Regions from separate parts of the Homo sapiens genome. Here region 1 is linked to region 2. Evidence: promoter capture Hi-C in 16 types of primary human blood cells and fetal thymus (Javierre and others, 2016). All regions are on one chromosome and are shown on one strand. Each heading gives the region's core, a stretch centred on a gene start or on the middle of the fragment in contact. The rest is flanking DNA. Distances are from core to core; before and after follow the strand shown. Region 1 has its middle 46 kb from the start of CLDN23. Region 2 holds the start of PPP1R3B (protein phosphatase 1 regulatory subunit 3B).

The links. Contacts are between HindIII fragments. The CHiCAGO score rates a contact against its expected background, and 5 or more counts as called.
Region 1: a fragment that was not itself captured here is called in contact with the fragment with the promoter of PPP1R3B in region 2 in 1 of 17 cell types (M2 macrophages); the score reaches 5.7 in M2 macrophages.

What each region holds. Positions count from the first base shown.
Region 1 is chr8:8,745,159-8,751,546 of GRCh38, reverse strand. No RefSeq gene overlaps it. Among named protein-coding and RNA genes, the nearest start is that of CLDN23, 46 kb to the right of the region's middle. The HindIII fragment of the contact is 5,283 bases long and covers 1-5,047 here.
Region 2 is chr8:9,146,153-9,152,233 of GRCh38, reverse strand. It overlaps PPP1R3B (protein phosphatase 1 regulatory subunit 3B), which reads left to right and starts at 1,576. Exons shown (of 2, transcript NM_024607.4): 1 at 1,576-1,671. It overlaps PPP1R3B-DT (PPP1R3B divergent transcript), which reads right to left and starts at 509. Exons shown (of 5, transcript NR_183348.1): 1 at 318-509. RefSeq lists silencers at 572-821, 1,322-1,591 and enhancers at 942-1,181, 1,228-2,176. The HindIII fragment of the contact is 22,346 bases long and covers 1-6,081 here.

The sequences.
Region 1 (6,388 bases), core at 1,157-3,656, 400 kb after region 2:
CTTATACAGTAGCCTTACTAAGTAGGTACAATTATATCTTTTTTACAGATGAAGAGATGGGCACCAAGAGTTGATTGCCCAACTCTACACAGCTAATAAATGGCAGAGCTTAATCTTAAACAACAGATTTAAGTCCTAAATCCTGAATACAGAGTCCAAGTTTTTAGCTGCTACATTTGACTTTGTCCGAGTTATTATCAGAAGCAAATTGCCAAACTTTCCTCTTTTGCCTCCCAGCACAATTTATGGGCGGTCTCTCCTTCTCACCCAGGAGTGTTGGGTAAATGTTTAACAACCAACCCTCTGAAGAACTGATTTATAGCATTTGCCAATTTCCATGGTGTAAATATTCCTTCCTGGCCAATTTCACGTTACCAACTTGGTGTCACTGACCATGAGGTTGAGAAAAGATGGGCTAAAAATTTAGCAATTGGCTCTCAAGAGCGAGTCCTATCAGTTCATTTTCTGGGTGTAATTTTAAGGGTAAAACTGAGGCAAGGGTGAAATTAAGGTCTTGGGTTACCGTTTCAATGGTGTCTGCCTCTAAGCCCTTCTCCAGACGAATTTCTGAGGCTACCAAATTTCTTAGGGGAGAAGAACCAGGATGTGGGTTTGCCTTGCGCTCCTGAGAGTTTGGCTTTCTGCTGCGCCACCTGGTGGCTGTAACTGACAGTTGCTGTATTCCCTGCTGCTGTCTTGAATTCAGGCTTTAGGGTTCTTCTCCCCGAGATGGTCAGCATTCTTTGCCCAGGAGCAAGTTCAGTTACTAATAAGGCTTCTCGTGGGTAATTGGACTCTTTAACTGACAATCTCCTTTACTGAGGCCTTTAGGATAAATTCCCAGGCGTTGGGCCAAAGGGCAGTTGAGTAACAAATTAGCAGCCTTGTTGTCCTCCGCTGAAACCACCCCAACTCCACAGCAGTAGAGAGCATCCCCAGGCTTGGTTCATAAATGCCAGAATATCCGGTGTCCTAGCAAATGTCCCAAAGCTCTTGTCACTGTTTTCTAAGAGGCTTAGAGGGTCTTCAGCAAACAGGTCTTCAAGTCTTCCACATTGATATTCGATAGTTCCAAAAGCCGAAGGCATAATCCCATCCGCCATCGCATAAGCCTGCCCTTTCTATCACTACATAATTTTAAGATTATATATAGATATATATAAATTACATACATATATAGATTATATATACACATATATAGATTACATATATATATATATAGATAATAGATAGATGATAGTCAGATAGCAATGATTTGGAGGTTACCTTTTGGTTGCGCTGATCCATACCAATAATCTGCTCCTTAGTGTATTAGTAACTGAGCACTAATCCTATATTTGGGAGTTCCTCAAACATTCTTCCCTTCTTCATTTATTTTATTTTATTTTATTTTTTGTAGAGACGGGGTTTTGCCATGTTGCCCAGGCTGGTCTTGAACTCCTCAACTCAAGCGATCCTCCCGCCTCAGCCTCCCAAAATGCTAGGATTATGGCATGAGCCACTGCACCCAGCCACCTTCTTCATTTTTGTATCTTCTACTTACTATGAATTTATTCATACAACAAGTATCTATTGAGCACAGCTATGTGCTAGTCATGTGGCTAGGATGTGGACACAATGATGAATTAGACATAGATCCAGCCCGGAGCTTGAGGGGCTACCGTGGTGTGGTGGAAACTAGGGAATACATTTGGAAGCCTTAGACAAAGCAGAATGCTGTGGGTGTGATGATGAGGGGCCACTGCACTCCAGCCTGGGCAACAGAGTGAGACCCCGTCTAAACAACAACAACAACAACAAAAAGCCCATACGTTGCTGTAGGTTGCTTCAACAAACAGTTTCACATGTCCCTCTTCCTAAAGATTCCTTTTCAGCTGGTTTGAGACAGAGCCTAGGAATCTTCATGTTAAACATATTGAATAAACACTCAGATAATATTTGATGCAGGTGATCTAGGGAACCCATTTTGAAAAGCATCGTCCTTTAGAGGTGGGTTGCTCCCAAGTCCCGCTGGCATCTTGCCTAAACAGTGCTTTTGTCAGCAGGCTGGATGCTTAGCAAGAACCTGCAGTCCTGGAGTTCTGAATGAATAGATTTTAAACTGGGGCCTATATCACCCTGAGGTTACAGAGAAACTTTACAAGGGTTTCTTGCCAGGTGGTTTTCAGGGCATTCATTTATTGACCCTCAGCTTCCCTTTGTACTGTTTTGTAAAATCCATCCACAGAGGCGCTGCAGGGCCACCAGGTTGGGTCTTCTCTCCCCACCTGCCCTTTTGTCCTCCCACTCTCAGCCTCAAGCTCCTGGGCTCAGTTGATGCTACTGCCTCAGTGATTCTTCCATATTTTTGAATATTTGAGATCATAGACTACATGGATTTGTAACATTAGGTCTCAAACTAACACAGTTTGAGATTCATCTGGGAAACAGAGGATGAAATCAGAGAGGGGTGGACGGTGGGGACGTGGGCTTTCTAGGACAATGGAGAATAGCAGGCAGAGCTGTCATTCAGGGCCATCTAGACACAGCCTCTGCTTTCTACCTGGAAGGGGAGGTGGCCTTGTAGATTGTGAGGCAGGTTCAGGAACAAGGAGAGGCTGATGCTTTCCAATACTACCTCAAATGGAAGCACATGGATTACCAGCGTATATTATTCCAGATTGGCAATGCCTGCCTGAGTCTAAAAGGGTTGTTGCACTACAAGGGTTTAGCTGTTTTCTCAACATTGACGAGGACCTACCTGGACAGAGAATGACACCAGTCCCTTGAGTACTATAGGCAAGTCAGGAGCCAGGACAAACCTCTCCGGGTCTCTCACCCACTCTCTGGGAGCCTCCTTGTTTCTGTTAATTTCTCTCTCTTCGCCGAATTCAATTGGGAAATATAGCAGGTGTATGGGAATGTGTGTATTTCTGAGGGGGAATGTCACTTCTCACTGATCTACAACCCACCTTAAACACTGCAGCATTACATCATGAACAATTTCCCTGGTCAAAACAACAACAACAACAACTCAGTCTAATGAATACACAAGATTTTACTACATGGCCATGTCATACTTTATTTTTCTAGAAGGCAGTATTATTTATATGTATATATATATTAGGTTTCTAAATTTTTATGGTTATATATAAAGTGCTGTATCTTTCAACTTTTAGAAAGTTGCTCTACAAATCTTATGTATTCATTCAAAGAGTATTTATTGATATTTACTATGTGTAAGTCACTGGTCTGGGTAATTTAGAGAGTCCAAAGATAAATCATAATTAGACACTGCCCCAGAGGAGCTTATGACTTACAAGGGAATTAGTACTCTATGGATGGAAGTTATGCTTTATTTCATCTTGATAAGGATCCTCTGAGATGGGCAAGGCGGTGCTACCATCTTCATTGCTTTTGTATGGAGGAACAGGAAGTGCAGACACGTTATGACCCTTGCCTGAGGTCACAGATGGTCTTCAGTCTAGCCTCACACTTGATTGATAGTTTGGCTATGATAATCTAGGTAAATTGTTAAAAATAAATACATTAGGAAAATGCAATGTGATAAACATTTATAAATAAACTTGTGAAATTTTCAGGTTATGTTAAATTAGGTAATAGATATTCACAAAATGTCTGAGTCATTTCTAAGTAAGTTAAAATACTGAAACATAAATTGCTGAACATAAATATATGTTTGTTCTTGGCTTCTTGAATTTTATATAAAGACTAAATATATTTGGGTTTATTAATACACACAAAAATTATGTTTTGGGGAAATGCTTTTTGAAATGATAAAATGGTTCACATCTGCAACATATTGATATGTGACAGACACTAAAAAACATCTTATTTCCTAGGTTTTCAGTAGAAATTAAAGTTATTAAGAGTTAAAAATTCTAACTAATATATATAATTCTGCATATAAAGTTTACCAAAAAATGCGATATGTTTTTAATGAGGATTCTCCTTTTATGACCTTCCCTGGCTCTATTTGTTAGAATTTTAAACATGTGACTGAATTTTGATTCTGACAACTTTCACACACCTGCAAATGATCTTCTAATTTACCTACCTTCGCCCTCCTGTTGTCTTTTTTTTTTTTTTTTTCTTGAGACAGAGTCTCGCTCTGTCGCACAGGCTGGAGTGCAATAGCATGATCTTGGCTCACTGCAACCTCCACCTCCCAGGTTCAAACAATTCTCCTGCCTCAGCCTCCCAGGTAGCTGGGATTACAGGTGTGCACCACCATGCCCGGCTAATTTTTGTATTTTAGTAGAGACGGGGTTTCCCCATGTTGGCTAGGCTGGTCTTGAGCTCCTGACCTCAGGTGATCCACCTGCCTTGGCCTCCCAAAGTGCTGGGATTACAGGTGTGAGCCACCGCACCCGGCCCCTCCTATTGTCCTTTTCAAAAACTATCCGGACCATTTGACCCAGCAATCCCATTACTGGGTAAATATTCAAAAGAAAACAAATGATTCTACCAAAGAGACACATGCAGGTGCACGTTCATCACAGTGCTATTCATAATAGCAAAGACATAGAATCAACAGAGGTGCCCAACAACAGTAGATCGGATAAAGAAAATATGGTACATGTACACCATGGAATACTACACAGCCCATAAAGAAGAAAAAATCATGTCCTTTTTAGAAATATGGATGCAGCTGGAGGCCATTATCCTAAGCGAATTAATGCAAGAACAGAAAACCAATTACCACGTGTTTTCACTTATAAGTGGAAGCTAAACATTGAGTACTCGTGAACATAAATATGGGAACAACAGACAGTGGGGACTACTAGAGGAGAGGAAGAAGGGAGTGGGGCAAGGCCTGAGAAATGACCTATTGGATACTACGTCCACTACCTGGGTGATGGGATCATTCATACCTCAAACCTCAGCATCACACAATACATCCAAGTAACAAATCTGCACTTGAACTCCCTGAGTCTAAAACAAACGTTGAAAAAAACCTATCTGAAAAGATTTTTAAAACTCTATTTTTGAATACTTTTATTGATTTTTTAAGAAAAGTTGTGTCAGACTTTTAATTGTCAAAGCTTTTCTTGTTCTTTGATTTTTATTTTAAGGTGATACTGTTCTTGTTTTATAGATGTCTTGTGTTTGCTTATTTCTCAAACAGTCATAGTTTCTATGGAACTCTCTTATGCTCCCTGTGTTGTCTCTGTTTCTCTGAATTTCTGGTTTCCATTAGTCTGTTTTGGTCTTTTTCTCTTTACTTTTTTTTTTTTTTTTGAGATGAAGTCTTGATCTGTTGCCTAGGCTGGAGTGTAGTGGCATAATCTCAGCTCACTGCAACCTCTGCTTCCCAGGTTCAAGTGATTCTCCTGCCTCAGCCTCCCTGGTAGCTGGGACTACAGGTGTAGCACTACCACGTCCAGCTAATTTTTCTATTTTTAGTAGAGACGGGGTTTCCCCATGTTGTCTAGGCTGGTCTCGAACTCCTGATCTCAAATGATCCACCCACAGCCTCTTAAAGTGTTGGGATTACAGGTGTGAGGCACCGTGCCCAGCCTCTTTCACTTTACTTTTATTTTAGATCTTGTTTTCCCCAAATGCCTGGCAAGTTTGGCCCAGCCATTTATGAGCGAGGCATATTTTTGAGCTGATTGTAGGTTGTGTATCTCATGAGGCTTGTGTCTAGTGGTCTTTACTATAACAGGGTTGGGAAGCGACTGCGCTGCTTTATTGGGCAACCTCTAAGTGTTAATATCCCCAGAGAAGGATGCATGCCCCCGTTTCCTGTTGGGAGAGTGTAAGCTTGGGTGCAGGTGTGACGGACCCGGGCGGAGGAAGAGGCTGGGTGGAGAAAGGTAGGTAGACTCTCACGTACTCCTTGTATTTTTGGATCTGGCATCTCACTCTACTCTTGGAGAAATCTTGAGAATCATCTCTAAAGAAACTTGTGGCTGTTCTTGTGGGTTTCTTGATGACATTGAGTTATTAGGTTGGTGCAATAGTAATTGCAGTTTTCACAATTTTAATGACAAAAACCGCAATTACTTTTTTTTTGGAGATGGAGTTTCGCTCTGTTATCCAGGCTGGAGTGCAGTGGTGCCATCTCAGCTCACTGCAACCTCCACCCCCTGGGTTCAAGCAATTCTTGTGCCTCAGCTTTCTGAGTAGCTGGAATTACAGGTGCTCACCACCACGAGTGGCTAATTTTTGTATTTTTAGTAGAGATGGGTTTCACCATGTTGGCCAGGCTGGTTTTGAATTCCTGATCCTTAAGTGATCCACCTGCTTCAGCCTCCCGAAGTGCTGGGATTGCAGGTGTGACCCACCACGCCCGGCCGCAATTACTTTTGCACTAACCTAATACTAATTTAGCCTGTCTGCATTGTTGCCCTTTTTTTTCTCTCACAATCTTGTGACTTTTAGT
Region 2 (6,081 bases), core at 327-2,826:
TTTCATGTCTTTCTTGGCAGTTTAAAAAGTTGGCAATCCTATATCAATTTCTAATTTTTTTCTAAAACTCTACTGGTCATTAAAATTAGAAAACTGGTAGCCTCATGCCTAAAGTGGCTAGTTCAGATCAAGTTACATGTAAACTGAAGAAAGGAAGAGCCTCTGATTCAAACTCTTTAAGGTCATCATTTTTTTCTTTTTCTAAGACCATTTTCTATAGATCTCAAGGTGCATAATATGCATCGCGGAGGCCCTGTAGATTTAGATAGCGATTATAACCGATTCAAGTCAGGAAATTTCTTCTGAAGTATACCTACCTGTGAAACCCTCCATATCTGGGGCGCTCTGTGCCACGGGTGTCAGACTTTTGCAAAAGCCCTGTCATTCTAACGGGACGCCCTCCTGTAGGAAGTTGCCCCCTGGCGCCCGTCCTCCGGCTTCTGATGAAACGGCGACCCACCACCCCCTTCCCAGACCCTGGCCCGCAGCCGGATCACTCCGGGCGCGCTGCCGATCACGTGGCGAAGCGGTGCTCCCCAGCGCCGTGGCTGCGCGCCCATTGGTCGGCGGCTGGAGTCCCGGGCGCGCCCATTGGCTGCGGGGGGCGTTCACGTGGCAGGGGGCCTGGGATGGACCCCGGGGTCCCGAGAGCTGGCAGGAAAGTTAAAGGGGGCAGCGCGGCCGCGGGGAGCTCGAGTCCCGGGTGACTGCTGGAGGGAGGAGGTGACCGCGCAGCTCTCGTGCACGGACGGACTTCGCCGCCCGCGGGGGGCGCGAACCCGAGCCCGGGCCCAGCTCCTGCCGTCACGGCAGCTGTCCCTGTTCCCCCAGGGCGTATGCTGCCGCGGGCTGGCGCGTCTGCCCTCGGGACTTATGAGCTGAACCCGGTACGTAGCTCCCCAAGTCTCGAGTCCGAGGGAAGGGCTGGGGACAACAAGGCGAGGGCGTGCAGCGGGGACCTCTTTGGGTTCCTGTCACCTACATTTTCACCGTGCGACTTGCACTGGCACACCGGGGCTGGAACACTCTAGGTAGCTGGCCCCAGGGAGCTGTTGCTTCAGCGTGGAGAGGGCGATCCAGGGACCGCAGCTGGGAAGCGCCTCCCGGGCCCACGTGCTCCACCGCGCTGCTGGGCCCGGCTGCGACCGTGACCCGGGAGCTGCGGCTGCGGCGGCTGATCCCTTTACCACCTGTTGTTCTGGCTTCGAAACTAGCACAAGTTCCCAGCCCCGGGTCCCGAGAGGTCTGGAGACTTCTCCAAAGTTGGGTAGTGGGGTTTGGAGCTTAAGGACAAGCCGCTTCGTCTCTCTCCGGGCCTTATTTTCCCTATAAAACGCGAGGAAATACACTTGGTAGGCTCTCAGGCCACCGAGGGCGACGGGACCTAGCACGATCCCCGTCCCGGGCTGGCGGAGGCCAGGCGGCCGCGCGGGGGTGCTGGTGTCGCGCTGCTTGCTCCGGCCGGGGTTGCCCCTTTGCCGGCCCCGCCCGGGTGCGATAACGGGCTCCTCCTCCTCGTCGTCTTCCTCCCACCGCCGACATCTCCGGGAACCCAGCCCAGGCCCTGCCTCCCGGACACACCGACGCTCACGTAGTCGCGCTTGCCACAACCCTGCGGGCTCTCCGATGCGGCGAGCGAGCTGGGGAGGGGGCTTCTCCGCGGCCCAAAAGGTGGGTGCGGCGCGAGGCCAAGGAGGCTTGTAGGGAGGTTGGGGGCGGAGTGCAGCCCTGGTCAAACTGGACGGAGGGGACAGAGTCGGAGAGTAACTTGTGGGATCCTCCAGCCTGGAGAGCACTGGCCTGCTCCTGCGTCTCTTTGGAATCCAGAAAAAGGGGTGTGGAAGGCACAGTAGCTGCAAAAGAGGGAGTGGGGGCCGGTAATGACTTACTGGAAGATTTGGGGCCTGTCAGAGCACTGTTTTCTGAAAAAGAGGAGAAAACAGAGGAAAGACTGGACTTGGGAACTTGGAGACTTGGAAGGTGTTGGAACCTGTGGTCTGAGTGGCGGGGGCCTGCCTGGGAGACCCAGGGTGCAGCAGAAGAGACAATTAGAGCTTTGGTCTGGGAGGAAGAGGAGGAGAGGAGGAAATGTTTCCTTGGGCAGAGTTGTCCAGGAGCCAAAACTAAAGTGAAGACAGCTGGAGGACTTACACAAAAGTACAGTTGAGGTATTTAGGAAAAAAAGTTAGTGGGAAGAGAAGCGGCACCAGGGGTGGGTCGCAACATACAATGTCAGGGCCAGCAGGGACCTTGGAGGGGACCTCAAGCCCAGAGCAGCTGAGTGACTCGCTCAAGTAGCAAAGCAAGGTGCGGGCATTCTTAGCCTAGTACTCTGTTTTCCCTCGTACGTTTTTAGACGGCAGGGGCTGTGTCATTTGAACTTGCCTCTTTCCTAGAATATGCAACTGTATTCACAAATGTCAGTCTCCAAGATGCTTTGGATGATGGGGACAGGATCAAGGGGTACAAGGAGCCTTTAAGGCTGTGAATAGGCCCCCATGGTCTGAGTACAAAGGGGAAAGACATGCACTCTCTTCATGCTGGATCAGTGAAACCTTTTGGAAGGGAACACAGAATTGTTGGAGGGAGGTAGATGGCCATGTCTTTAAAAATGAAAATTATAACCTGGTTGTGAATGTTTACTGAATGCAGTTCGGCAGCTTTCAGTGTTCCTGGTGGGTTGCTTGTGCATCTGATTTTTTTGTTTGTTTGGTTTTGTTTGTTTGTTTTGAGACGGAGTGTCGCTCTGTCGCCCAGGCTGGAGTGCAGTGGCGCCATCTCTGGCTCATTGTAAGCTCCGCCTCCCGGGTTCACGCCATTCTCCTGCCTCGGCCTCCTGAGTAGCTGGGACTACAGGCGCCCGCCACCACGCCCAGCTAATTTTTATTTGTATTTTTAGTAGAGACGGGGTTTCACCGTGTTAGCCAGGATGGTGTCGATCTCCTGACCTCGTGATCTGCCCGCCTCGGCCTCCCAAAGTGCTGGGATTACAGGCGTGAGCCACCACGCCCGGCCTTTTTTTGCCTTTTTTTTTTTTTTTTGAGACGTAGTTTCGCTCTGTCGCCCAGGCTGGACTGCAGTGGCGCCATCTCGGCTCACTGCAAGCTCCGCCTCCCGGGTTCGCGCCATTCTCCTGCCTCGGCCTCCTGAGTAGCTGGGACTACAGGCGCCCGCCGCCACGCCCGGCTAATTTTTTTTTTTTGTATTTTTAGTAGAGACGGGGTTTCACCGTGTTCGCCAGGATGGTCTCGATCTCCTGATCTCGTGATCCGCCCGCCTCGGCCTCCCAAAGTGCTGGGATTACAGGCGTGAGCCACCACGCCCGGCCTTTTTGTCTTTTCTTACCAGAAGAAAGAGAGAGAGAGAATAAGAGAATGGAGGGGATAATGTCGTGGCCCTGATACAAAAAAGATTTCCTCCCTATGAAAGGTACAGCCAGAAAGTCAGTAGTTCAGCTGCCTGAAACCGTGAAGGTCATAGGGTTATTTTCTGTGCAGGTCTATAGTTATCACCATGGCCGTCTAACCTTGGCCAGCTGTCTTGAGAAGGTGTGTTATGAGTGGAACAGATAAAGCATTTATGCAAAACTATCTCCATGATCTGTTAGGGTTTGCCCTGTCTTAGCCATGAACACTGTAATCTACCCTCAAGCATGGCCCAGTCTCTCACCAGAGAAACTGATCCCTGAGCTCTGAGGCATCTCTATGGAAGCAAGTGTTTGAGAATTCATACCTACCTGGGAGCAGCACTCATACACTCATTCCTATCCTGCAACTGGTATCAGATCCTGAGTCCTGCTCTCATGGTTCAAATGTATGTCCATAACTTCTGGTTCTTTTTTTTTCCCCCTTGGCCAACTTTGGTGACTCATATTCCCTGGCCTGGGAAAAGGACAGAGCTGGAGCAGCCAGAGAGTCTGTCAGGAGAGGAGGCTGGGCTGCAGCCTGGTGCTTCCTGTGTTGGAACCGATCATTTTCATGTCATTTGTAAAAGAAGCACCTGTCCAGGTGCCTTCTTTTCAGGAACTTAATATTACCTTGCACATCTCAGTTGCTAGGAGTACTTCTGCATGGCGGCAGCCATCCCTGTCACAGTCCGCTGGGGAGTTCCTGAGCAGTTCAGGAAAGCCTACACCAAACCAGCACTTTGGTGTGCTGATTCTTGGAGAATGACCTGGTAAATAAAATCTGGAAGCTATCTGTGGGACAGGCAAGGTGACTGACAGTCGAGTCATACCCCAGATTGAGGCCACACAGGTTAATGTCCTCACCTGCAGTTATGGTGACACACAAAGTGAAGGGATTCTAGACTGGGGTTGCTTGTGCAATGTCCCTGGGGTAGTAGTCCTGCGGGTAACTCTTGAGCCATCATAACCTTACTTTTGCCTTTCATGGAAGAATCTTGTAATAGCAGTTTGGCTCCTTCAAGTGCCAGCAGCATTGTTTAATTAGCTCTGGCTCTGACTAGAGCCTGGCCTCTCCAAGCCGGACTTCTGCTTGTTCTTACAGCTTGGTGATAAAAAGGGATCTCAGGGACAAATTTATGCCACTGGGGTGAAACAGTGAAACTCTACCAAGGTCTTCAGCTAAGTCTCTTCAGCCTGCGGGATTAGAACTTGGGACATTGGCTCTAGTGGGCTGTGTGTAGATTCTTTGATTGATCCTTTTGCTTTGGCTGTTTCCACAATATCTTGAGAGTTTCCAAGGCTTTTCCTAACATGCAGAAAAAGCACGTAGGAGGCTGGTTTGCAGGCTTCTTGGAAGTGCAAAGAGAACTTGCAGATAACCTGTGCTGACTCAGTTGAGGAGGAAGCTGTGAAGAGGAACCCTTCCTCCCTCAGTTCACACCCAGATTTTTCAGGATGGGTAGAGTGGGGGGCACTGGGATGCCAGATATAGCCTCTTGTTTGGTTTTCGTACTTGTTTAAAAACAAGGCTGGGCACGGTGGCTCATGCCTATAATCCCAGCACTGTGGGAGGCTGAGGGGAGCAGATCATGAGGTCAGGAGTTCGAGACCAGCCTGACATGGTGAAACCCCGTCTCTACTAAAAATACAAAAATTAGCTGGGGGTGGTGGTGCACGCCTGTAATCCCAGGGGTGGTGGCACGAGTAGTCCCAGCTACTTGGGAGGCTGAGGCAGGAGAATCGCTTGAACCCGGATGGCAGAGGTTGCAGTGAGCTGAGATTGCGCCACGGCACTCCAGCCTGGGCAACAGAGCAAGACTCCATCTCGAAAAAAAAAAAATTAAAAATAAGACAAAACAAAAACACTACCTGTGTTACAGTTAGAGCTGAGGGTATAATTCCAGCACAGTTTTGCAAAGGACAAGAGTAACTAAAATTTAGATATTTTGTAAGTATAGGATTTTTTTTTTACATTGAACCTGTTAGTCAATCCGTGGAACCTCTGCAAACCTACCTTGCCTAATTCAGTCAGAACTTTCCTTTCCAGAACAGTTACGTGGCTATAAGAACAGATCATTGAAAGCAAATTTGCCCTTAAAATTTTCACTAGATTGATTTTCTTAAAGGGGAAACAGTGAGACAGATATCCTTTAAAATGAATGTTTAAGCACCTGCATTCTGGCCATAAGTTATTGTTTTATTTGTTTCCGAATATGTGTATTTCTCTGACTGGCCATCTGTAAGGGTTTCTTGCATCCCAGGGAAGTTCTGTACTTTTGGAAAAATGGGGTCAAATCTGATATGTGTTCGTCCGTTCACCTTTTTTCTTTACATGTTTGGTTAATCACAATCAGAAGGTGAAAATGAGAGGTTATTTATAGAACTGAACCAGTGGTCCCAGCTCTTTACAGAAGACACTTGGCATGTTGCCTGTCACTTCTCAGGGGTGGCCATGGCTGCTTGAGAGTGAGCTCCCCAACACGTCATCACACACCTACACCTGTGCCATAAGGAGGGGTAAGATAGGTTGAGGGGAGATAGGTTTGGGGACTCATCCAGATCCTGTGTTCTGTGATTCTCAGACTTGAGATTTTAATCCTAGTTTCGGCACTCATTTCCTTAATTTAGTCCATTGAAACTGTCAAATCAAAATATAAATTTGCCATGGTAATTAG